Regions from separate parts of the Homo sapiens genome. Here regions 2 and 3 are each linked to region 1. Evidence: promoter capture Hi-C in human tissues and cell types (Jung and others, 2019). All regions are on one chromosome and are shown on one strand. Each heading gives the region's core, a stretch centred on a gene start or on the middle of the fragment in contact. The rest is flanking DNA. Distances are from core to core; before and after follow the strand shown. Region 1 holds the start of KCNJ14 (potassium inwardly rectifying channel subfamily J member 14). Region 2 overlaps CARD8 (caspase recruitment domain family member 8). Region 3 overlaps CARD8 (caspase recruitment domain family member 8).

Region 1 (4,497 bases), core at 1,295-3,794:
TCCCACTGGCTCTGATCTTGCTTCCTGCTTGGAAACTGAAGTCGAATTGGGCTCCCCTGGAAGGGGTTCATTCAGGTCTGTTGACTGAGACTGGCCGGCCTGTGGGCTGCCGTGATGGATTCTGTTTGACGTATTGTTCTCTAGAAGGCCTGGCTCTGATCCAGTGACCCCTCTCACCAAAGAACTCGGTTTAACCAGGGCTCTGTAAGACCACTCCCACCCAGAGACTTGTGTGGCCTGGTGTGGCCTGTGTGTCGGATTCCTTCCTGTCAGCTGTGACCCATTTGACCTGTGTCCCCAGAACCCAGTTTTTTGTTTGTTTGTTTGAGACGGAGTCTTGGTCTGTCGCCCAGGCTGGAGTGCAGTAGCACGATCTTGGCTCACTGCAACCTCCGCCTCCTGGGTTAAAGTGATTCTCTCAGCTCAGTCTCCCAGGTAGCTGGGATTACAGGCATGTGCCACCACACCCCGTTAATTTTTGTATTTTTAGTAGAGACGGGGTTTCACCATGTTGGCCAGGCTGGTCTCAAATTCTTGATCTCAAGTGATCTGTCCGCCCCGGCCTCCCAGAGTGCTGGGTTGGGATTACAGGCGTGAGCCACCGCGTCCGGCTCAGGACCCAGTTTTGGCTGCTGGTTCCCAGCAGGGGACTCGGGGGATATACAGTGGCTGCACCAAATTGGAGGTGTGGGTTCCTCCAACACAATTTGCTTCTGCCCGTTGTCTTCCTGCCAGCTGGGTTTGGCCAGGATTTCTCCGTGTGGGGGCTACATGCGACCCTCTCCCCTCCTCCCTGACTTTAGAGGCTGGTGCTGTGTCGGGAGGAAGGTCAGGGCTCCTGAGCAGCAATAAAGGACCAGGAAGAGGCCTGAGGTGTATTTGAGACTCTGGTCCTTTGGCCACAGCCCTATGAGGAAACGGGGTGTGGGGGGAGTTTGGGGGTGGGGAGGAATTTGGCACCAGCTGCCCCCAGGCCGCTAGGCTGGGGGAGGCCACTGGGAGTCCAGTGCAACCCAACCTTCCGCCCACTGGGTGCCGCCGCGTTCTGCCTTCTCTAAGTGTCCTTCCATCTGGAACTCACTCTGGCTTAGTGAAAGGGGCCTCATCCCTGACCCCCACCAGCTTATGAAGGCTTCATCTCAGGGAACTCTGGACCCCCCATTTCTCCCTCCGTCCATCTCCCCTTTATCACGTTTCTTTCTTTCTTCTCTGTGTCCCCCTCTTTCAGAGTCTCCCGTCCCCCACTGCCAGTCTCCCTGCCCCCTAGTCGCTGTCTCGCTCCTCCGCCGCTGTCTCCTGTCCAGCCTGCCTGGGCTGTGGCCCAGCCGCTCTGCCTGGCTGGCCTCCCTGGCTCCCCCTCTGCGGCTCTGAGCTAGCCCCACCCCCGGCCCCCCTCCATCCAGCCTCTGATCCATCTGTGGACTCCGAGGTCGGGTGCCCGTCACACGGCCCCTGGGACCAAGGACAGACTACAGCCCCTCAGCACCCACAGAGGCTTCCCCTCAGCCCTAGCCGAGGAGCCCCCAGCGGAGGGCATGGGGGTGGGCCGCCCCAACAGGTACGTGCCTCCATGCAAGGCACCGCTGAGCCATCCCCTCCTGCTCTGCTGCGTCGCCCCCATCCACCCCTGCCCCAGCATCCCTGTCCTCAGCTTGTCCCCTTCAAGAAGGCCTTGTCTTCCCATCAGTGACAGGCTCAGCGCCAGGAGAATCCACCCCCAGGTTCAGTGCCTCCAACTCTCACCCCATCCCCATTTTATGCATTTTCTCACTGGCTTCCATCCTTTCAGAGAAACCCTCTCAGTCTGTCTGTCTCTGTCTCTGTCTCTCTCCCCCATCTCTGTCTCTCCCATCTCTCTCTGCCTCTCTCTGTCTTCACAATTTCATCTCCCCATGTCGCCATTTCTTAAAACATTTCTTTTCTCCTTTTCGTTTTCCCAATTGCCCTGTCCGCCTCTATCTTCTCTGTCCCCCTCCATCTAGGTCTCTGTCCCCCCCTCTCTCTGGGTCTCTGTCCCCCTCTGTCTCTGAGTCTCTATCCTCTCAAGGTCTCTGTTCCCCTCTCTCTGGGTCTCTGTCCTCTCTCAAGGTCTCTGTCCCTTTCTCTCTGGATCAATGTCCCTTTCCTGCTGCCCTCTCTGGGTCTCTGTCCCCCTCTCTCTCAGGGTCCCTGTCCTGCTTGGTCCCTGTACTTTTTCTTGGGGCACCCTCTCAACACCCCTCCTCCTGCCTATCTCTGCATCTCTTTGTCTTTCTGTAGTCTCTGCTTTCCAACCTGCTGTCCAGCCCCCACCAGTAGGTGGGGAGTGGTGGGGAACACCCCTGGTTTCGGAAGAGTGAGAGTGTTGATTTGGGAGGGTGAGGGTGGGGCCTGGGGGCGGGGCTTCTTGGCCTCAGATTAGACAGTGACTTTGACACGAAGTTGAAGCACCTTAAGCCCTGTATCTCCTTTATATGGAAACATTAAGCTGCTCTCGCAGGTCAGGTGGAGGATCCCTTTCCCTCCCGCCCTGCTTTTGCTAGGGGAGGGGGGTGCCCTGAGCCTGAGTCGCAGCCAGCCTGGGAGCTGGGCCATGTTGGCCGCAGATGGCCCCCTGGTGAAGGTTCCCGTTGGCTTTGGGAAGTAGACAACGGGTCTGCCTCACGGGGCTGAGGTGGGACTGGAGGATTTCGAGGGCAGAACTCTGGGAAGGAAAGAAAGGCTTAGGACCCAACCAGCATTCCCCCTGGCACTGCGGGGGCCTGGCCAGCTCATGGCGTTCCCTGAGCCTGTTCCCCAACTGTGAAAGGGGGTGATGATCTTCACCTCCCGGCATCCTGAGCGGCCAAGGTGAGCAGTGGGGTCTGAGAGTCCAGTGGGGGCTGTGGGCATGTCGGGAGCTCATCACGAGGCCTCGTACATACCAGGTGTGTTTGAAACCAGAGTGCTCTTGAGAAGACTGTGGTTTGTCACTCGGGCCGTGGCTCCCAGGAGGCCTGGGTGGGAGGCTAGCTTTTGCCACTCCTCTCCCCACTGGCTGAGAGACCTGCGACAAGGGACTAACCTCAGCCCCAGTTGGCTTTTCTGTGAAAAGCCAGGTCCCTTCATCAAAGGGCTTTGGTGAGAGATGGGCAAGTGGGGGTGAGAGGCCCAGGCTGGGGCCTGGGGAGCACAGGTCAGTGTCAGTGCCCACCTGCCCCCCCAGCCCACGGGGGTGGTTCCTGAGGGTGGAGTCAGTGCTGAGTGGGGATCCCCAGGCTGGGGAGGGCTGCAGGTGTAGATGCTGCATCCTGATGTTGACCTCCAGGCCGCCCCCTTGGGCAACGAGCCTATTTCCCCTTTTTGGGAGAACAGTCTCTAACATGCAGGGTTGTCAGGGGTGAGATAGAGTCAAGGTTGGGGTACACTGTGGGCACTGGACACAGCCAGGCTGGTCCCCTCACCTCAGCCTTGCCTCTGTCAAGTGGGCCTAATGAACCCTCGCGAATGGCCAGGCTGCCTGCGTGGTTGTGGGAAGCAGGTGCAGGGCTTTGGGAGACCCAGTTGGTGCCAAACTTGACATTGTCTCATGGTCTTCTTTCCAAATGGAGTGTGCCAGGCCCTGCCAAGAAGCCCCTGAGGATCCCCAGGTTCCAGCACAAATTATTTAACCCCTGGAATGGTTTGTCCTGATCCAGCCAGTTCCTGGGAAGTTCCCCACCACAGGGCCAAGCGTTTGGTAACGTTGCAGTGAACCCTGAAGGCAATGAGGGGTGCGGGTCCATGCCCAGCCCTTTCCTTTGGTCCACCCTGACAGGCTGCTGCGATTCCCTCCATTTCTTTTCTTCCTTTATTTTTTATTTTTAATTATTTATTTATTTTTTAGAGACAGGGTTTTGCTGTCTTCCCCAGGCTGGTTCTCAAACCCCTGGCCTCACGCATTCCTCCTGAGTTGGACTCCCAAAGTGCTAGGATTACAGGTGTGAGCCACCGCACCTGCCCTCTTTTTTTTTTTTTTTTCTTTAAGAGATAGGGTCTTGCTCTGTTGCCCAGGCTGCAGTGCAGTGGTAGAGCATCATAGCTCACTGCAGCCTTGAACTCTGGGCTCAAGTGATCCCCCACCTCAGTCTCCACAGTAGCTGCATCACCATGGCTGGATACTTTTTGTTTTTAAGATAGGGTCTCGCCATGTTCCCTAAGCTGGTTTCAGACTCCCGGGTTCCAACAGTCCTCCCACCTTGGCCTCCCAGAGTGCTGGGATTACAGGTGTGAGCCACCATGCCCAGCCCCCAGGCCTCCTGCCTTTCACAGATGAGAGCTGAGGCTCAGGAAAGGATTTGACCTGTCATCCATCACACACCTAGTAAATGGTTGAGCAAACTGAGTCTCTGGAAAAAGAAGCCAGAGATCCCAGGGGACATGGTGGGTGAGCAACTAAGCCAGGACTGGGCCCTCATCCATATGGTAAGAAGGCCCTTCCTGGTCTTTTAAGAAGTCCCAATTTCCCCACCTTACAATGGAGGAAACCGAGACTCAGAA
Region 2 (4,469 bases), core at 103-2,602, 210 kb before region 1:
GTGTGGACAAGAAAATGCATATAAAAAGTCCATTGTATTATGGTTTGCTATCAGAAAACAGGGTAACAAACTGAATGTCCATCATCAAAGAATGGATACATTGATTATAATATCATCATTGCATTAATACTGTAGCGCAGTTAACATAAATTATTAAAACCACATGTAAACATGGATAAATATTTAAAATGTACTATTGGGCCGGGCACGGTGGCTCACGCCTGTAATCCCAACACTTTGGGAGGCCGAGGCGGGCGGATCACCTGAGATCAGGAGTTCGAAGCCAGACTGGCAACATAGTGAAACTCCGTCTCTACTAAAAATACAAAAATTAGTCGTGCGTGGTGGCGGGCGCCTGTCACCCCAGCTACTCGGGAGGCTGAGGCAGAAGAATCGCTTGAACCCGAGAGGTGGAGGTTGCAGTGAGCCGAGATCACACCACTGGACTCCAGCCTGGATGACAGAACGAGACTCCGTCTCAAAAAAAAAAAAAAGTAATATTGATTAAAAATCAAATTGCATGAGACTGCACAGCACGATACCAAGCAAATACAAGTTTTAAATATTACAGAAAATAATATTTAAAATACAAACCAAATACATAAATCATGCAGGGGGATTAAGACGTTTCTGGATAGTGGCAACAGCCGAGAGTGGCTGGATGAATTTCAGAGAAATTTCATATATTGCTTCAATTTTATTTAAAATATATTATTACCTATGTTTTAGATATTTTATTGTAAATAATGGGCAAGGATATTATAAACTCTGCAGAAGTAAGTGTAGTCGTGTTTTTTCCTACTCACATTGAAGATGGCCCAGATGCTTGCACTAACCGCGTTTACCGCCCACAGCCATCATGGCGACCGGAAGTCCTGAGAGCTTGTTTCCCTCGAATCTCAGACAGCCCTCCTTCTCTATGAACATTATTTCAAAAGAAGTTGAGAACTAGAGAAACCGAAGCTTAAGGGGATTCTCCCATTTGGCCTGTCCTCCCCTAAAGTCACCACCTGCTGCGTTTCTGCAGCGCTTACCATGTGAGTTTCAGGAGCCCCAGGGTGCAGGAAGGAGGAGCGGAGGCTTGTTGCTTGGACACTGCCAGGCTGCTCTGTGTTCTGTTCCTCTTGGTCACTTGAGAAGAAAGGGAGAAGTTCCTATGAGGCTGTCGGAAAGGGAAATGGGGCCCTCCGCTTGTTGAAAACAAAACAAAACCCTCAGGAAGCTTTGCATCCTGTTAGTCATAGCTTAAATTTATGACTTCAATGACTTGGCTGGGACAGTCTTAATCTCTCCATACTCAAGTTGTTTTAATTTCTGTAATAATAATTTTTATACCAATGTTTGTGTTGTTAATACTAATAATTTTACATTGTAACTGTAATCCTTTAATTATTACAAGTGTTAACCTAAATAACAAACATATGAAAGCTTCCTAAAGGAAACAGTGTTTATTTGGGAATAGAGCATTGCAATTGGGAATAGATATGCCATATTAAACTATGTATATATTCAGGAAGATAAAGGAAGACAGAAATGGGGAGGATTGCATATTGTTTTGACAGGATTTTCCTTGGCCACAGGATCAGGCACAAAGGTGACATTAGTCTGAGGTTGGACAGGCAGTTGCTGGGCAGCATTCCTTGCAGAAATATTTTTTGTTTAAGGTTGCAATGACCTTTATGCAAGGTTGTGGGTTTTGTAGAGTCTTTTTCATTTTCAAGCATACAAGGATAAGACCCCCCCTCTTCATGGCTTTCCTGGCTTTATTTGTCAGGGTCATCTTAACATTAGTGGCTCCATTTTGTTCTGACAACTTTCAGATTTCTCCTTGTGATCAAGAACTTTCTCTAAAAGCATTATTGATCAATCATTCTGTAATTAAGATTTGATGTCCCCTGATGCCAGCATGGACCTCTCCCAGTTTGCTGGTCTCATCCCATGTTGTGGGGAGTGACTGGTGACTAGGAATCGATGTCAAAAGCACATTTGAGCAACAAAAGAGATTTGAAGGATGTGGCTCTCAGGCTAAGTCTCCCTGGAGTCCATTAGTAAGTTCAATTTTGTCTGTTCTACAGTCTTTTGCTATCCCTTTAAAGTGCTGATTCAGTATTATTTTGTTAGGAGCTGCACCTCTGAAAAAATTTAACAAGTAACACATACAAAGTTTAAAAAGGAGAAATACAAAGTAAGGGGAAATACAAATTAAGAGCAATATGAGATTTTCAGTTTGCATATGGTTTTGAGCCATAAACCTAGGTTTAAAGACAACTAATTGAAGAACTCAAACAGTTATTCGAGACAGCAGGGAGTTAGGTGAGACCTGGGGTAACCACATGGCCTGCTTTCTTATTTTGTGTATAGGAGCCTCAACTTTTCTCAGAGGAATTTATTCAGGTATAGCATGTCGTATTAGCAACATCACAGACAATTTCTTGCTTAACCAATGGATACTAAAGAATTTTGTAGGTTGGGTTCTGTTAAGTTATAAGCAGAAGGAATTGATCATAAAATTTAAGTTACACCATTATTCTGCTAAGTAGAAAAGGTCGAATTAAGTGAGATGAAAGTCTCATTATGATATAGAGTCTTGTTTCAGCATCTTGCAGAAAGTTATACAGTGTGAAAACACCAACTTTTTCTCCTGGTTTGTAGTGTGAACGTCTCTGGTTATGATATTGGGCAGTTTGGTAAACTATTGTGTGATCCGCATATCAGCCTTGAGGTTTGTTCCCTCTTTCATTTTCCTCTGGATCACCAACATGCTAATCTACGTTCACATCACTGAAACCGTAGAGGCCAATACCAATTTCACCATTTCTGGTCCTGGATATTTGCAAGACTGTTGTCAAACTAGGCCATACATACAATAATTTAATATACATTTGGGGCTTGGATTATATTTCTGTTAAATTGCACTGCTCTATGGGACTTATTTTATTCATTCCACAAATATATTTTGCACATGTTCCTTATTCTTGGTACTATTTAATGGATTTGGCATACATCCGTGATCTAAACAGATAAAACTCCCCCAAGGATCATTTATAAATGTCATGGTGATTCGCCATGTCCTGTTTGTGTTCCTCATGGTCTGGACCAGCATCAACATGGCCAGTCTCCTCTGCAGACACCGGCGGAGAGCCCAGCGTCTGCACAGCCCTAGCCTCTCTTCCCAGCCATCTCCTGAACACAGAGCCACCCATACCATCCTCCTGCTGCTTGGTTGCTTTGTGTGCTTTTATTGCTCAAACAACTTCATCACTCTTTATTTCTTTTATAAATCTGAGAAAAAATCAAGACTAGAGATGATCACTGGAATTATTTCATCATGCTACCCAACCATCTGCCCTTTTGTGCTAATAAAAAATAATAAAATTATTTCCTAATTTACCTCTTCCTCTCTAAGACAAGAATGATCAGCTCTCAGGGAGCATTCAATGGCTGATCTCAAACCCCATACTTTCTTCTGCAGCTGGGAAGTCTCCATGATGACTTTTGTGGAGAAAAAGTCATGCAGTTATTGAGCAATTGAATTAGGGCTAGTTTGAATTGAGGTGTATCATAAATTTAAAAAGCATTCAGGTTTTGAAGTCAATATAAATAACAGTATATAAATATTATCTTAATAACTTTCACATTGCTGACAAGTTTAAATTATGACATTTTGGGTAAAACGTATGTATATGTTTTGTTATGTTTACATATATATGCATATTTAAATAAAATACATATACACAAATATGTAAGTAAAACATATGTAAGAATATATATAATATATATAATTTTTTTTTTTTGAGACAGAGTCTTGCTCTGTCACCCAGGCTGGAGTATGCAGTGGTGTGATCTCAGCTCACTGCGGCCCCCACCTCCTGGATTCAAGCAATCCTCCCACTTCAGCCTTCCGAGTAGCTAGGATTATAGGTGTGCACCACCATGCCTGGCTAATTTTTTTGTATTTTTTAGTAGAGACAGAGTTTCCCCACGTTGGCCAGGCTGGTCTAGAACTCCTGACCTCAAGTGAACCGCCTGTGTCAGCCTCCAAAAGTGCTAGGATTGTAGGTGTGAGCCACCGCACTGGCCTTATCAGTATATACACACACACACACACACACACACACACATATGTGTATACATATACAACTACATAGGTATTTTTAAACTAACTGTATCTGCTTGTTTTTGCTTTTTTAAATGCAGTTGCTAGAAAATTTAATATACATTTGGGGCTTGGATTATATTTCTGTTAAACTGCACTGCTCTATGGCACTTCTTGTATTCATTCCACAAATACATTTTGCACATGTTCCTTATTCTTGGTACTATTTAATGGGTTGGACATACATCCATGATCTAAACAGATAAAACATAATAGCACAAGAGATTATACAGAATGTTTGTGGTACAGGAAAACGTATATGTACACATGATAGGAGCTAAAAAGAATAGGACTGGTTAAGAGAATGTGGTGT
Region 3 (4,228 bases), core at 1-2,500, 220 kb before region 1:
GATATCGAATGAGAGCTGAGAGTGACCAGAATATGCAGTTTCGCTTCTTTGAATCCAGACAAAGAAAGGCACAAGAATGTTCCTTGTCATGACTAAACGTATACACCAAATTCCATAAGACTTTCTGGGAAGCCAGGCTGGACAGCTTTGGTGGGAGGCACCATTTGCTGAGGACTGGAACCAATGCACCTACATTTCTACTGGTCCGAAATAGCAGAAGACACTTTCTGCTGGTGAGGAAAGTCCAGGTCAGAAAAGTATCGAACTCCAAAGATGCAGAGGCGAAAGAGCGTGCATCCTTCCTAGGCCCTGCTGCTGTCCCCAGCCACCAGGACCACCCACTGACTCCCCTGAGCATTTCCATGCCCCAGCAGTGACAGGCTTACATGTCCCCATTTAAACTGCACAGTGCACTGTGGCAAAGGTAAGGGAAAGCACTCCTGATCTGCACAAAAGACTCTAAATTGTCTTCTTCACATAAAATCACAGAACATTTCCATCAATCCACACGCCCTTCACTCCTCTCCCTATTAGCCCATTACCTGAATCTTGTCCCTCTGAAGATTCCTGCTCTTCTGATACACTGGAGGTTGGGATCCCCATGTTACAAAAAGATGAAAAACATCAAGAATCAGTTGATGAAGATGAAGACGATGTTATTGAAAACTAGAGCTGCACTGTCCCGTAGAGTAGCCGCTACCCGGATATGCTATTTAAATTTGTATGAATTAAACTTAGGTAAACTTTAGTTTCTCAGTTGCACTATCCATATTTCAAGTGCTCAACAGCTACATATCACTCACGGCTATAACACTGTGTAGCAGAGAATGGAACACTCCCGTCATCACAGAAAGTTCTCTTAGACTGGGCGGATCTAGACTATCAAGAAATAGAAGACATTTTGAATGAAGATATTTTTATCCACATTTATAAATAATAGAGATAACACACTCCCTTGAGCCAAATGTGTCTTGACATCTCTCCTTCTTCTCTTTGTATTATGCCCACGTTCAATGTGGACACAGCCAGATTCTCTGGCTTAAATTGATTGCTCCGATTGGTATCATACGATGTCGGAATCAAAGACTGAAGCAGTAATTCACCAATGCGTAAAATGTATGCATTTATATTCCAAGGTAATTCCAAACTTGACCACACCTGGGAAGCTTTAAAAACCACCCAATACCAGGTCACAGCCCACATCAATTGAATCAGAAGTCTGGAGGTGGCACCAAAGCATCGGCGCTTTCAAAGCCTCACAGGTGATTCCAATATTAGCCAATATGGGTTCTATGACATACAGCGTGAGCCAATGGTTCGTCATGCCTCTGGAGAGAAACCTGCCCTAACACAGGTGATACCTTCTGGAGCAAGGCAACCAACTCCATCAAATTCTCTGCCTTTGATCCATTCCTTGAGATATCTGTTTATTTCGACGTGAAAGAGACCAGCAGAGAAACTGACACGTGGATTAGGTTTAAAAAGAACAGGTACCTAGAGAAGTGGGATGAAGAGAAAGGCTTTACAGCGCTTTTCTCGGAAGGATTCTGTGGGCAAGCCAAGCATGGAGAGACCCCTGGGCTGACATCCTAAGACTGGTTGCTGTCTGCGGCTACACATTTTGCTATGGATTCGGGTAGCTACAGGCAAAGCAGCAAGAGTAAACATGCCATTTTATATTCTCTTTCCTGGTGCATGTGCATGCTGGAGTCTGCCTGCTGAGGAGGGGTTTAGAAAGTGGGAGGAACCCAGCGCTGAACTGCAGACAGCGCATCCCAGATCATGAGAGCTGACGGTTCCATTTTCAGGGCTTTTGCAACCAAGTTGTTCAACACAACCATTAGTCTAAATTAAATGATACAAGCTAACATTTAAATAAATCATATTAAAAACAAAAGTAATACATATTAAAACATACCAATTTCCAGTCATTTTTCTACACTTTTCAGCAGTCTATGCCCTTGAGGTTATTTATGTCTCTTGTATCTGTGTGGTGAAAGCAGGATGACAGACTTCTGCATGTGTTCTTTCAACTCCCTCATCAGGGGCTTCACGTTGGTAGTTTGAAATCTGCCATGATGGGGATATTCAACCCTTGGAAATTGGCATACCCTACAAATAGACGCATTCTCCCCTCCCCGGTGTTAAACCTCAGGACCCCACTGTGGCCTTCAGCCTCATCATCAGCCAGTTTCCTAGAGAATTAGGTTGGTTTTATGTATTGAGTAACAGCTTAACCAATAACCCACTGGTCTTCGATTGCATTGCTCATTGCCTTTTTGTGTATAGGTTCTCTAGACACCTCCATGGAAGAAAACCTCATTGCTTAAGGTTTGTTTCAAAAATTTCTGGATTCATTGCTAGTATTGCATAAGCTCATTCATTCTCCCCTGAGTTCGATGAAAAACACCCAAATTCCTCTAATTCTCATGTTCCTCTGTGATATTGAGACACAGCGTCCAATAGTTTTCCAACGGAATAGCTTTTCTTACCTGGGAATGTCCCCCCCAGATAGTTGACACTCAGGAACAGCACGGAACAATAATGGCTCTGCCTCTGTCTCATCATCTTCTTGGAAAAAATGTGAGATGTCACAAAGGGTCTCAGAAACACAGGGTAGCTCCCTGTATACCCTGGAAAACAACAACAGAATTTTTACTATGAATATAAGGTAGGTGCCTGATGATAGCATAGGCTGTGCAGGAAGATTTTATGTTAATAGCCATAGACTCAATATTTTATCTTAGGGAAGTCATTCCTCAGGCCCCTACGACTCCATCTCACCTCTCAGACTCCCATGACTCTTTCTTACATCTCATTATGTTAAATTTAACTGGCTCTCTGTTTCCCACTATATGCTGCTCTTTCCATCCTAGGAAGCAGACGTCAGTCAGTTCTCAACATCTAGCATTTGCCACAAACATTGGTTTCATAATAGGTCAACAAGTATGTTGACCTATATAACCTTGCTAAGAATTTTAGGGAAAGGATGAGATTCCTAATTTGTAGTCTCCCTTCATCCATAATTGGTGCCCGAGAGAATAGGACCCTAAAATGATTGGGATTGCAGGGCATTAGTGAGATTGGGCATGTTTTATAAGAACCCATGGAACAGTTATCTCCTCTTCTCCCTTCTGCCTGCAAATGGTGAGAGGGGTTGCATAAAGCAACAAAAATGCTCACAGAAAAAGAAAATTATGGATATTGTACACACTTTCTTTTCCCATCAAGGATCCTTATTCAGATATGGAACATGAGAGTCCTATGCTAGATCCTTTTCTCTTCTTCATTTTTGAAGGCTTGGTGCTGTCCTCCTATGGCTGGCAGGAATCAAGATTGAGGTTAGGAGTGATGGAGTGTCCTTTATGCCAAGATATTCAATGGCCAATATGACAGCCACTAGCCACACCTGCCTATTTACATTTAGTTTTAAATTGTTAAATGTGAAAATCAGTTCCTCCTTTGAAGTAGCCATATTTCAAGTGCTCAAAAGCCACACGTGGCTCTTGCCTGCCACCATGTAAGACATGCCTTTGCTCCTCCTTTGACTTCTGCCATGATGGTGAGGCCTCCCCAGCCACGTGAAACTAAAAGAATTTTTCTGGGTAATGGACATAGGCATAGGACGTCTGGCAACAAAATCTGCTTTGAAGAGGACTCCAGGGAATAGAGATGAGGTCTCAGGCTGGTCTTGAATTCCCGGCCCCAAGAAATCCTTCCACCTTGGCATCCCAAAGCACTGGGATTACAGTCATGAGCCACCGCACCCAGCCTGAGCATTACTGTTTGATAGATATTCCCAAATCACTCTCCACAAAAGGTTACAACAGTGAACACTTCCATCAGCTGAATATCTGTGAAAGCAATTGTTGAGAGATTTTGAAGTAAGTTCAAAACCAAACTGTAGAAAAAAATCATTGACAAAAAAGGAAAGCAAAAAAAAAGAAAGAAAATAACTGAGGAATTATTACTGAAGACAACTTTTGTCTAAAAAAAAAAAAGAACATTTGTTTGCAATGTAAAATCGGGTTTCAGCTGGAAAATTAAGCCTGTTAAAAACATCAACAACAAGAGCAAAAATCCTGAATATTTTTTCAGCAATTCTGATTAAAGTATGTATGTTAAAAAAAGAAAAAGCCATGTGAGGCCAGTGGCTTTCACACTGGACACCACAGACAGGGAACATTTCCATCCTGGGTGAGAACTCTATTGGACAGCATTGACTTTA

The links. The method cuts DNA at HindIII sites, captures the fragments that hold promoters and counts their contacts. A contact is called where the count stands out against the background at its distance.
Region 2: a contact is called between a fragment that was not itself captured here and the fragment with the promoter of KCNJ14 in region 1, in 1 of the 25 tissues and cell types used here (lymphoblastoid cells).
Region 3: a fragment that was not itself captured here is called in contact with the fragment with the promoter of KCNJ14 in region 1 in 1 of the 25 tissues and cell types used here (IMR-90 fibroblasts).

The regions. Positions count from the first base shown.
Region 1 is chr19:48,453,030-48,457,526 of GRCh38, forward strand. It overlaps KCNJ14 (potassium inwardly rectifying channel subfamily J member 14), which reads left to right and starts at 2,545. Exons shown (of 3, transcript NM_013348.4): 1 at 2,545-2,829. It overlaps GRWD1 (glutamate rich WD repeat containing 1), which reads left to right. Exons shown (of 7, transcript NM_031485.4): 7 at 1-3,993. The HindIII fragment of the contact is 6,064 bases long and covers 2,308-4,497 here.
Region 2 is chr19:48,248,717-48,253,185 of GRCh38, forward strand. CARD8 (caspase recruitment domain family member 8) reads right to left here. Exons shown (of 14, transcript NM_001184900.3): 2 at 1,035-1,131; 3 at 807-917. It also overlaps the pseudogene VN1R97P. Among named protein-coding and RNA genes, the nearest start is that of CARD8-AS1, 4.7 kb to the right of the region's middle. The HindIII fragment of the contact is 5,403 bases long and covers 1-4,054 here.
Region 3 is chr19:48,231,911-48,236,138 of GRCh38, forward strand. It overlaps CARD8 (caspase recruitment domain family member 8), which reads right to left. Exons shown (of 14, transcript NM_001184900.3): 6 at 2,493-2,633; 7 at 543-583. Among named protein-coding and RNA genes, the nearest start is that of CARD8-AS1, 22 kb to the right of the region's middle. The HindIII fragment of the contact is 6,565 bases long and covers 1-4,228 here.